Regions from separate parts of the Homo sapiens genome. Here all the other regions are linked to region 3. The links are contacts of gene promoters, found by promoter capture Hi-C in human tissues and cell types (Jung and others, 2019). All regions are on one chromosome and are shown on one strand. The core of a region is centred on a gene start or on the middle of the fragment in contact, and the rest is flanking DNA. Distances in the headings are between cores, read along the strand shown. Region 1 overlaps MAP2K5 (mitogen-activated protein kinase kinase 5). Region 2 overlaps MAP2K5 (mitogen-activated protein kinase kinase 5). Region 3 holds the start of C15orf61 (chromosome 15 open reading frame 61).

Region 1 (4,043 bases), core at 1-2,500, 160 kb before region 3:
GCCACCCATAACTGCCTCACGCAGGAAACTGTATCTTTACACATTCTGCATCAATTAGCCATTAAACAATCCACATAAACAGCATCAAGCAGAAGCTTGCTAATAAAGGCCAGAGCCTCAAGAGCATGTGCTTTCCCAACATCTTCACAAAAGGGCTCCTCCGCCCACTGCCCAGCCCCTGCCCCCAGCACAATCAGGGGTCAGGGTGGGAGGTTACCCTTGGCTAGGATCTGGCTGGGTGCCGAGGGGGCTGTTCAAAACAAATAAAAGCTCCTTCACAAAACTACAGTTGGAGTTACTTAATGTGCTTTGTATAGGGACCCAAACGGTAATTTCCTTGTAAGATTAGTTCTTTTTTTTTTTTTTTTTTGAGATGCAGTGTCACTCGGTTGCCAGGCTGGAGTGCAGTGGCACGATCTCACCTCACTGCAACCTCCGACTCTCAGGTGCAAGCAATTCTCCTGCCTCAGCCTCCTGAGTAGCTGGGACTACAGGTGCTCACCACCATGCCCCGCTAATTTTTGTATTTTTAGTAGAGATGGGGTTTCTCCATATTGGCCAGGCTGGTCTCAAACTACTGACCTCATGATCCTACCGCCTCGGCTTCCCAAAGTGTTGGGATTACAGGCGTGAGCCACTGTGCCCGGTGTCTGGTAAGATCAGTTCTAAAGAAAATTGTGATTTTTGTATCAGCTATATGCTTTCTTTTGCCAGAAAAGAAAAACCATACCAATTGAGGATTCCCTTTTTGTTGTGACCTATTCACATCAGGTGCTGTTGGTATCTCCAACTTCTACTTCCTTTTGGTCTTTGTTTCATATTTAAACATTTAATTTGCTCTGAACTTTTACATGTCTCACTGAATGCTCTTAGAAACAGGCATGGTACAATTGTTACAGAAACATTTTTAAATGTGGCATGTGGCTGTTGTGGGATGACAATGGAGGCAGAAATAAACTTCTCTTCAACTTTTTCCCCCTATAAAGCAATTACACTGTGTGAATACCAGGAAGCCACTCTCAGTTTACCAGGAGCCAGAGGGCACATTAGCCGGTCTCCACTCCTAGCAACCTCTCCTAGCACTGTGCCTGGGATCTTCAGCAATGCTCTTTCATTATGTTTAATTGTCTTATGAAAAGAAAAAAAACAATATATCTATCTAGTTATTTATTGGGGACTGCATTCTAATGAATGAGAACAGCAGGTACAATTAAGTATAGACTATGCTGACGTTCTGCATTACAAATTCATCTGTGCACAACGGGAACATACTTAAGAGAAAACCACATTGCAATATAAAAGTTATTCTAATGACTCCATCACATAAGAAAGGGTAGGTCATCCAAATATTCTTGCAAAGGCCTTAAATAAAATTAAACAGCATAATTAGCCATCCTCAATGGCAGTTATTGCCTGGAGTCTCATGATTCGGTTCAGAATGGAGGCAACAAACGTGCCCTTTCCTTCTTCAATAAAGGCAGGGTACCTGGGACACTTACAAGATTAATAACAAGGGCAAAAAGGCCTGAGCTTCTCAATTCTCCCTCTCTTAATCCTTTCATAGTAAGTAAAAGAGATTTCCTTCTAAAGTGGTGAATCTTAGATTCCTACCTGTGATGTGTACATATTCTGGTCAGTGTTTAGGAAAAGCCAGGTCTGGAGGAATGTGTTCCTGCACAACCTACTTCCCCAAGTCTAAGATACCACTGACTGTTAAGACTCCTCTTGACTATAAAACATTTTTGGGGAAAAAGGAAAGAAAACAAAGGAATACCACATTATATGCATAAATAAGATGTAAGACAGCAGACTTGACTTGGAGCGGTGTGTCCCGAAGACTAATCCTGGTAATTTGTTTTAAAGAAATAACAAAAAATTATGGTAGATAACACTTACTTGGCACTTAATATATACCAGGAACTGGGCTAAGTGCATTATTATCATATGCATTACCTCATTTAATTCTCATTGTAACCCTTGAGATAGGTACTATTATTAACCCCATTTTACAGAGGAGGAAATTGAGGTTCAAATTAATGAAATTACTTGCCCAAGGACACAAAACTAGAGGCTTCGACTAGTAAAGCTCTTAAGCCTTAACAAACTGCATTATATTTATGAGCTAAATCTTATTGGAACTAATAGGATGGATTATCCCAGCTTTGGCAGTGAATAGTTGGGTGATCTTGGGAAGTTCACAAAGAAAATAGCCCAGATGTTTTAAGTTCTTTATACTCACAGGCTAATTTTCTAAGAAAAGGAGATGTTAACAGGAAAGTGTGAGGAACGTTCTAACTATTCCCTCTCATTTAACCTCTTGCTTCTTTTCTTGAGAAATAATTATTTGACATAATAATAGCTGTTATATGCCAGGTACAATGCTATGACCTCAAAGAAGTTAAGAAGCTGACCCAAGGTCACATAGCTAAGATGAATTAAGAGGAAGAACCAGAACTTAAACCTGGGTCTGACCCTCATACTAGAGCTTTTCCATTAGGCCACCAACCACTTTCCTATGACTTTTTCCTATGACTTTTCCTATAACTAAGCAAGTTTTTTAGGCTGCTTGAGCCTTGATTGCTTCACCTAAGAATGGAGATACAATGATACCTCCTCACAAGGTTATTATAACAATTAAATAAAATTATACATACAAGAGAGCTAACACTGTAGCACATACAAGGTACTCAATAAATGATATTAGGAAAATGATTAATATTGTTATCATTATGATTGTACCCAATCCAGAAGGAACTTAATCTTCCACCAGCAAAAGAGTAGATTTGATTTCCATGGTGCTGATCACCTTCAACCATGCCTTTAGAGAAAGGAAGAGACATGGAGAGCTCTTCCAACTGCTAAAGCTGTCTGTCCATTCTGCTTGGCAAAATGTCCCAAGGATAAATCTCTTACTTTAATACGAGAAAGGGGAACAAAAGATGACTTCCAATTTAGCCACATTATAAAAAGTTCCAGGAGAAAAACACTGCCCTCAGAAAATTATGATTCAATGTATTCATCCAACAAATATCCACTGGCATACAATCAATGCCATAAACTCCTCTACCAACAGAAATGACCCTGTCATTCATCATACAGGTGCTCTCTCTCTCCCTCTGATAAGCTCCTAAACTTCAGGTTTGTGTCAGAGACAAAGCAATGATCAGAGCTAACTGCGGGGCTTGGTGAATCAAACACTCATCCACACACTGGGGGCATCTTGCTGGGTGGTTGGATAGAAGCTTACCCTAATGGATACTATAGAGACTGGTGAGCCAAAACACACAACGATCACACAGTCTGCTTCAAATCCCAATCCCCTGCAAGTCAGAAGGCTTTTAGAGGTGGGGACTGGGGAAATAACTATCCTCTTCCATTTGCATTTGTTCCTTGAATGACACACGACGTCTTTCCTTATTTCTCCTCTAAGGCTTCCATTGATACTCATTTTCAGAATGGAAGAGGGTAATTTCCCTCTTACTGATTTCCTAAAAGGGATGACTCTGCCTATGATCAAATCCTACCACAGAAGCATGGGAGAGAGAAAAACTAAGTCCAGGACAACCTTCTCTGATTAAGCTGACCTTCTGAATACAGGTAACTACAGAAAGATGATATATTCTTTTTTTGTTGTTTACATTAAGCTTTTAATTTTGAGATAACTATAGATTTACACAGTTATCTCAAAGTTTACATTTACAATGGTAAGAAATAATACAGAGACATCCTGTGTACACTCCACCCAGTTTCCCCTAATGGTAACATCTTATAAAACTGTAGTATAGTATCACAACCAGGGTATTGACACTGATAGTCAAGATGGAGAACATTTCCATCACCATGAGGATTCCTCATCTTGCTCCATTGTAAACATTCCCTCTGTCTCCCATCCTCTCAGCCCCTGGTAACCACTAATGTGCTCTCTCCATTTCTATAATTTTGTCATCTCAAGAATATTATACAAATGGAATCATACACTATGTAACCTTTGTGACTGGCTTTTTCACTCAGTATAATGATCTGGAGGTTCATCTAGGTTGTGG
Region 2 (3,981 bases), core at 29-2,528, 210 kb before region 3:
CCACTTGACTGATCAAGTAAAGATATATTTAGACATTCAGGAAAACCATACTGCAAAGGTAAATAGCCTCTTCTCAAATTTGACCACAGCTTTCATGTGCTTCACTTGTCAAATGTGGCAGTAATCCATTTCTTTTTTTTGTTTTTGAGACGGAATCTTGCTCTGTTGCCCAGGCTGGAGTGCAGTGGCGTGATCTCGGCTCACTGCAAGCTCCACCTCCCGGGTTCAAGCCATTCTCCTGCCTCAGCAGGGACTACAGGTGCCCGCCACCACGCCCGGCTAATTTTTTTTTTTTGTATTTTTAGTAGAGACGGGGTTTCACCATGTTAGCCAGGATGGTCTCAATCTCCTGACCTCGTGATCCGCCCACCTCGGCCTCCCAAAGTGCTGGGATTACAGGCGTAAGCCACTGCACCTGGCCATGGCAAAATCCATTTCTTAGACTCATCACCCATCAAATCTCACTGATTAACTACTCTAGACATTAGGAATCTCAAGAATATTGCTACATTCTCAACCTTTGGAATTTTTACTGGATGGCTTATAAGTTTTCTACTAAGATTTGTTTGAGAAATATACTGCATAGGGCTTGTGAGTTCACTTTCAAAATTTTAGGGGATTTCACAAATTGGCCAAGCTGAATTGTTTAGAAATTACTGACAGAATAAGAAGCTTACCAAGATAAATATTCTAATGAGCTATAAATCCTGAAAATGTAATTTTAATTTGATGGGTTACCTAGAGCTAAGCAGCAAGGCTATATACACTAAAATCTCACTAAATGCCAGCATTCATGCCAAGCAACTGCATTTTAGATTTTCTCTATAAGGAAAAGATTACATTTAAACAAAAAAGTCTATGAATTTGAAAAGTGAGACTAACACTCTTGAACCTAACAACTTGGACGATTTCTCTTCCACTTATCTGATGGCTTTAACTATGAAAGCAAAAGAATACGAAAGAGACATTTCATTGAGTAAAGGGTCTTTAAATGTCCACATTGGTACCAGGAGAATTTGCTTAAAACTGCTTATAAAGATGGTAGAGAGAATGAGCCCCATCCTATTATTCAATAACCATGTTTGTGATGCATCTGCATAATCTAACCATGCATAAATTAGTATGTGTAATACAACACTTATTTGCATAATAATAGCAAGTTAATAGATGCTTAAAGAGCAGAGACCAACACCACCTTTAAATCAGACATGCCTCTAGGCACTTTGGCCTGTACAGACCAAGATGCCAGAAAAACAGTGAACATCAACCAGAGGAAAACAGTCAAACCATTCATTTTTCATCCCTCTAGACATTTCACTTATTTCCCCCACAAACTGGGGAATCATTTTCAAACCACAAAATAGCTTTCTATTTTAGTGCTGGTACCCTTCTATAATAAAAATCTTAAAGAAATTTTAATAAAGATTAGAGTCAGCAATGCTACTATAATGGACTGTTTTGTTTCCTTACAAATGTAGACAGGAGGGAGCAAAATATTTTTAAATAATATGTTCAAAATTACACTCATAAAATTGGGGGCCTATATATTTGCCTAGCAAAAATAATGACCTAGATTAGATGCTTTCACCCTTTGTCTTAATCTTTTAACTCAAAAAATTTTAAGTGAATTTAAGAGCTTAAAAAGTGTATCAAGAAAAAGCTGGCTCTCTCCTCCAACCTCAAAATGAGTACATGGTATTGGACCAGGAAAAAAAACAATCCCGAATGTCACACAAAGGAAAAGCACAATGATCACTCTCAACCTTTAACAAGAAGAAAAAATCAGGAGTTTAAAAAAATCAAAAATCAATAGAGATTTCTAAATGAACCCTTTAAGATACCACTTTTCAATTTAACAGGACAGATTTATTTGTATGTGGCTCAAATGTTCACAATTGCTCCCTGCACCTTCATACATAGGAATGAATGTCACAGTGGCAAACAGCAGTAATGAACAATCTTACCTGAGGATATGGAAACCTCCCAAGAGCAAGCTGGGAAAGGAAATAATATTTGTCTAGTTATAGATTTGCATGCAGGGCAGATCTCCTTAAGACAGACAAGTACTAAATTTCAGAACTGCATCCAGCAAATATAAAAAAGTTCACAACCTTGAATGTACAAACTAAATTATTGCTGTAATTACATTAAGAGCTGTATTTAGAATGGACATTTTCAATGGACGATGTTGCACCCCTGATAAAATATTTTAATTTTAATAACAAAACATTATCCTTATGTGGTTTCCCTTAGTAATATTCTCAGCTATATGGGCATTATTCACATTTACGTGTGTGTGACAGTTTCTTCTAGACAGAGATGTAAAAACTCTTTGCTTTTAGTCTTGTAAAATGGGAACATCTAATTGTTACTAACCCACAAAATTTTCAGTTACAAGTATAAATGGAGGGTAGTAGGAAGTGGGGAATGGACATTATTATGAAATTGAAAACTGCGCCATTATTTTCATCCATTTGTTAAAGTTTTTTCATCCATTTTCTACCCACTAGTGGGAAAAATGGCCATTTCAAGGTTGTGAAGTCAGAACTGTAGGTCTAAGTCTGAAAGCTTCCAATCTAACTTGATTTGTAAACTGCTCTGTTTCTGAGCCAGTCACTTAATTTTGATCCTTGAATCCTCACCTGTAAAAACAAAATGATCCAACCAGGAATAGGCTTGATATAAAGCAAAAAGATATAAACTGTTTTTTGAGCCAGAGTCTTGCTCTGTCACCCAGACTGGAGTGCAGTGGCGTGATCTCGGCTCACTGCAACCTCTGCCTCCTGGGTTCAAGTGATTCTCTTGTCTCAGCCTCCCAAGGTAGCTGGGATTACAGGCGCACACCATCATGCCCAGCTAATTTTTGTATTTTTAGTAGAGATGGGGTTTCACCATGTTGGCCAGGCTGGTCTTGAGCTCCTGACCTCAAGTGATCTGCCTGGCTTGGCCTCCCAAAGTGCTGGGATTACAGGGCTAAGCCATTGAACCTGGCCAAAAAGATAAAATTTAACAAACATACAAAAACCTATTTAAAGAAAATAGTGGCAAAACTTTGCAATTTTATAATGTGGCCAATCCTCAGTCCTGACATCATTTACATGTATTTGTAATTACTTTCAAAGCAGAATCGCAACATCAGGGACTTTAACGCTAATGGATCTAAGAGAGCATCAACCCACTTCAAAGATTAAAACCCAGAGTCCCACTGAAGTAGCTCCCAAACAGTTAATAAGTGGAAGCCTAGGAACTGACCCTAAGATTTGCAACTTAATCCAGTGTTCCTTCCTGCATATGAAACTGCCTTTCTAGATCTTGAGAAGTTCTGCGCTTATTTCAAAGACACTGACACTGCTCAAACATTTCTGAATTCTCCTTTTGTAATTGTTTTAGAATTATTTCAATTAACAGAATACCTATTTCATTTTATTAGTATGCACCTTATCTTGGATTTAAAATTATACCCCTCAGCTTGTTCATCATGTAAATTATTTGTAGACTAAGGTTTGAATAGCCTATGGATATTACCAAAACCCAAAGCCACATACAAAAACTAAATATTTTGTTGCTTAGACATGAATATGCTGAAGTTATCAAAGTTCTAAAACCAATATGAACAATAGCCATGTAACAGGAATAAACATTATGACCTCGTAAAGTGACTACTTTGAAAAGGCCCACACTCATTTGCACATATGCTTGTGTGTATGTGTATATATGTATGTCTTAGAATACCTAGTTTCATTACCTTGTACTCATATCTTGTACACAAAATATACACTGATATGTGTATGGATTTTCAAGATATAGGTATACTATCATCATTTCATTTGATGGATATCATTAATCTCTTCCACTGTACATAACAAAAACATCACAAGATGGGGTGAAAGAAAGAGAGTGTAGATGTTTGCCAAACTCCCTTTCGAAGTTTTGTGTGATTATGTTTGTTGTCTATGTACGGGGAGGGAAAAGGGAGAGACT
Region 3 (4,311 bases), core at 68-2,567:
TTAGTAGTACGGCTGCGCAGGGTTTAGTTTTAATCCTGGCTTTAAAAACCTGGCTGGGTAACATGGTTCATTCAGCTCCATGGCTAGATTTTGAATCACTGAAATCTAGATTGATTTTATGCCAGCTATTAGTAAGTTCAAAACATCTTGAGGCCTTCTGTTTTCCCCTGACCTATAAAAGATACACCCATGTCCATGTTCGTACCTCCCTCTTCTGTCATTAAACCAAAAGAAAATAAACACCTAGTGACAGTAAACATCCTCAGGGCGTCTCCATGAAAATATACAAATATTAAAGATCTTTAAAAATCTTTTAGGCCTAGCACCTCAGGAAGCTGTTATGTCTGGTGAAAACCTTTGGTGCTTTTAGTAAAACGAACTTGCCGGGAATTCATACAAAGAAAACAAAAGAAACTTAAAAGAGTAGTTCCAGTTATTGCAACATAAACGCAGCTGCAAAGTGATGTTCACGGGAATGAGTCCTGCCATGCAGTAGGACGGATGTCAACTTCAGAGCCACTTTCTAGGGGGCGTTTCCTGACGCCCCCTGGCTTACTGCCCAGGCCAGGGGTCTACTCTGGTTAACATGGGCAGGACAGGAGGGCGACCCGCCCCTCCCTAGGCCCGAGGACGCGCCCGCAGCAGGCGAACGGCTTCGGGTGCCAGGAGCTCAGCAAGCTGGGGACCCCCTGGGCGAGGAGTACAAAGGACCCCAGGCGAAGCCGGCGCCGGGAGGCAGAGCTGACTCCCGCGGGACTCTACCGGCCTGCGAGCGTTCGTCACGTGCTCGGTGGCTGAGGGGCCGTCCCGGCCGGGCGGGCTTCACCGCGTGGGCGCGGCAGTCGCCACTCACCGAGGTTGACGACCTTGAGCGCCGTGAAGAAGCGGTTCTGCCGGGCCAGGTCCTGCCAGGGAGCCTTGGAGCAGTGGTACTTGATGAAGGGGAAGCAGCCGGTGCGCAGGACGTGGTAGTTGGCGCCCTGCACCGGCCAGTTGAAGTGCGAGAGGCCGAACTGGTCGTTGCGGACGGCGCTGTAGGGCACGCAGAAGGAGGTCCAGTGCGGCAGGCGCCGCTGCAGCAGATGCCGCGTCAGCACCTCCGAGGCGCTGGGCTTGGGGCGGGCGGCGGCGCGCGAGGCCCACGGCCTACACAGCAGCAGGCGGAGCGCGACCTCGTGGGCCCTCCTCAGGGCCTCCATGGCCCGCCGCGCCGGGGACGCAGGCTGGTGTCCGCAGCCGCTGGCGCGCAAGCGCGCCCCCGGGCGAGCGCCGGGAAGGCCAACCGGCGCCGCGCGGGTGCCCGAGAGCCCCCGGTGTGCGGCGGCGCGTGCGCACAGCGGCCCCGTGGCCTCCCGCTGGGGGTGGAGTCCGGGGGATGGGAAGCGTGAGCTGCGCGAGGCGGAGGGTCACCTGCGTCAAGGAGCTGGTTTTGAGTGGCCAGGTGTGACCTCACGCCGTCATTAGTAACTCGGGCAGGGGAGGGATTCGGGGAGGTCTCATCAATTTGGGCCTGAGGAAAATTCAGGTGGAAGACAATTAAATAACTAACCACCTCCGCAAGGTGCAGAACTCAAACCCAAGTCTCCCTCCCACGCCCTGGGCTCCAGGGAAGCCCTTGGGTGTTGTTGTTGAAACAGGACGAGGCGTGACCCCGGGTCTGCGTTGTTTGGTAAGGCCGGGAGCACTTTTGTGTGTAGGTCCTCGCTGTCGGGTTCACTGTTTAAAATTAGTCCCAGAGATTTCAAAATCAAAAGTTTATTTAAAAACCTCACGTGTCTCAGTGCAGCGTCCGAACACACAAAGGCACCTCCCTCTAAGAACCTGGTAGACGGACCAGGAGCCTCTTATCGAGCTTTGTGGACCTCAGTCACCCATTACCAATCCATTACTTTCGGAAAAGCTTTGCTCAAACTTTGCGGCCTCTTGAGGCAGTAACTTACGGACAAAACTGCTTTTAGAAAAGGATTTCCTCTTTTGTCCTAAACTCATTTTGTTTGGAGAGGCCATACATAAACAAGATGATGTGTCTGAAACCACCTTATGTAAATGAGGTACAGTAATTACGCGTTAAGCATCATATAACAATTACTATCGTTGCTAAAAACTCAAGGGGGATGTAGGATAGTATGGCGAAATTTTATATTCCCCAGTTTTTTGTTTTGTTTTGTTTTGTTTTTTTGAGACGGAGTCTCACTCTGTTGCCCAGGCTGGAGTGCAGTGGTGCAATCTCAGCTCACTGCAACCTCTGCCTCCCAGGTTCAAGTGATTTTCCTGCCTCAGCCTCCCGAGTGGCTGGGATTACAGGCGTGCACCACCACGCCTGGCTAATTTTTGTATTTTTAATAGAGACGGGGTTTCACCATGTTGGCCAGGCTGGTCTCAAACTCATGACCTCGTGATCCACCTGCCTCGGCCTCCCAAAGTGCTGGGATTACAGGCGTGAGCCACTGCACCAGGCCTATTCCCCAGTTTTTATTGAACATTGAGCACCCACCAACATATGCCGAATCTTGAACTTTACCTTACAGAATTTGAAGTTGAACTTTACCTTATAGAACTTGAACTTTATAGAATTTCTTTTTCTTTTCTTTTTTTTAGAAAGGATCTCACTGTTGTCTAGGCTGGAGTGCAGCTGCTCGATCTCGGCTCACTGCAACTTCTGCCTCCTGGGCTCAAGAGATCCTCCCACCCTCAGCCTCCCAAGTAGCTGGGACTGCAGGTGTGTGCCACCTACACTCGGCTGCTTTTTTTGGTATTTTTTGTAGAGGTGGAATTTTGCCATGTTGCCCAGGCTGGTCTTGAACACTTGGGCTCAAGTGATCCGCCCGCCTCGGCCTCCCAAAGTGGTGGGATTACAGGTGTGAGCTTCTGCACCTGACCAAATTAAATTTTGAAAAAGAGTGGAGTCCTTTTTCAAACGAAATCTGTTGAAGGTCCCCAACATATAAAGTTGGTTAAAACTTATGCTTTAGGCCGGGCACGGTGGCTCACGCCTGTAATCCCAGCACTTTGGGAGGCCGAGGCCAGTGGATCATCTGAGGTCAGGAGTCCGAGACCAGCCTGGCCAACATGGCGAAACCCTGTGTCTGCTAAAAATAGAAAAATTAGCCGGGCGTGGTGGCACATGCCTGTAGTCCCAGCTACTCGGGAGGCTGAGGCAGGAGAATCACTTAAACCCAGGAGGCAGAGGTTGCAGTGAGCTGAGATCGTGCCACTGCACTCCAGCCTGAGCGACAGAGCGAGACTCCGTCTCAAAAAAAAACAAAAAAAACAAAAATAACTTATGCTTTATTACTAAGCATAAGTTCAAACTTTTTTTAACTTTTTATTTTACTTATTTTTTAGGCGTGGGTTCTCACTATGTTGCTTAAGCTGGTCCAGAACTCAAGCCAGTCTCTCACTTCAGCCTCTTGAGTCGTTGGGATTACAGAAGCCACCATGTCCAACTGTAAGTTCAAATTTTTTATATTAACTTTATAGATAAAAAACAAAACAATGAAACTTCAGTGTGTTGTTGTCTTGGATTTTCTTTTGTTTTGAGCAGAAAGGGGATTCATTGGAGGAAAATTAGGTAGCCCAAATAGTAAACAAGAAGTCTAGAGAACCAGGCTCAGAAAATGGGAAGGAACGAGGAGAGTCCGAACAGCAAAGACATAGATAAGACCAACAGGAACTAGTCTGGCGAGCATGCCATTGCTGGCCCCACTGCCACAGGACTCTTGATCCTGTTGCTTGCAAAATGTTGAAGCTGGGGGTTGTGGTTGTGAAAGTGGATCCTTTGAATTGAGTTGTTCTTATCCCCAGCTAAAACAGTGGAAAAGCCAGGGGGAGAAAGCACTCAGGACATATGACATTACTTTAGAAATGTAGTTCTCGGCCGGGTCCAGTGACTCACGCCTGTAATCCTAGCACTTTGGGAGGCTGAGGCGGGCGGATCACGAGGTCAGGAGATCAAGACCATCCTGGCTAACACGGTGAAACCCTGTCTCTACTAAAAATACAAAAAATTAGCCGGGCGTGGTAGCGGGCGCCTGTAGCCCCAGCTACTCGGGAGGCTGAGGCAGGAGAATGGCGTGAACCCGGGAGGCGGAGCTTGCAGTGAGCCGAGATCGCGCCACTGCACTCCAGCCTGGGCGACAGAGCGAGACTCCGTCTCAAAAAAAAAAAAGAAAAAAAAAAAAAGAAATGTGATTCTTTGCAAGTCCCCCTGCTGAAACTGCCTGTTGTGACCTGAGACCAGTTTTATCTGTAACTGCTGAGATAACTTGCTGCAACTCTAGGACTAATTCTTCCCACTGCCATCCCTCACCT

What was found. The method cuts DNA at HindIII sites, captures the fragments that hold promoters and counts their contacts. A contact is called where the count stands out against the background at its distance.
Region 1: a fragment that was not itself captured here is called in contact with the fragment with the promoter of C15orf61 in region 3 in 2 of the 25 tissues and cell types used here (hippocampus and mesenchymal stem cells).
Region 2: a contact is called between a fragment that was not itself captured here and the fragment with the promoter of C15orf61 in region 3, in 1 of the 25 tissues and cell types used here (hippocampus).

What each region holds. Positions count from the first base shown.
Region 1 is chr15:67,675,290-67,679,332 of GRCh38, reverse strand. The region is part of intron 13 of MAP2K5 (mitogen-activated protein kinase kinase 5); the gene reads right to left. Among named protein-coding and RNA genes, the nearest start is that of MAP2K5, 130 kb to the right of the region's middle. The HindIII fragment of the contact is 6,748 bases long and covers 1-4,043 here.
Region 2 is chr15:67,725,929-67,729,909 of GRCh38, reverse strand. MAP2K5 (mitogen-activated protein kinase kinase 5) reads right to left here. Exons shown (of 22, transcript NM_145160.3): 17 at 1,965-1,994. Among named protein-coding and RNA genes, the nearest start is that of SKOR1, 98 kb to the left of the region's middle. The HindIII fragment of the contact is 4,576 bases long and covers 1-3,566 here.
Region 3 is chr15:67,518,137-67,522,447 of GRCh38, reverse strand. C15orf61 (chromosome 15 open reading frame 61) reads right to left here and starts at 1,317. Exons shown (of 2, transcript NM_001143936.2): 1 at 854-1,317. The coding sequence starts at 1,199. IQCH-AS1 (IQCH antisense RNA 1) reads left to right here and starts at 604. Exons shown (of 6, transcript NR_040052.1): 1 at 604-929; 2 at 3,346-3,448. RefSeq lists enhancers at 891-1,010, 1,651-1,730 and a silencer at 1,121-1,470. The HindIII fragment of the contact is 11,118 bases long and covers 1-4,311 here.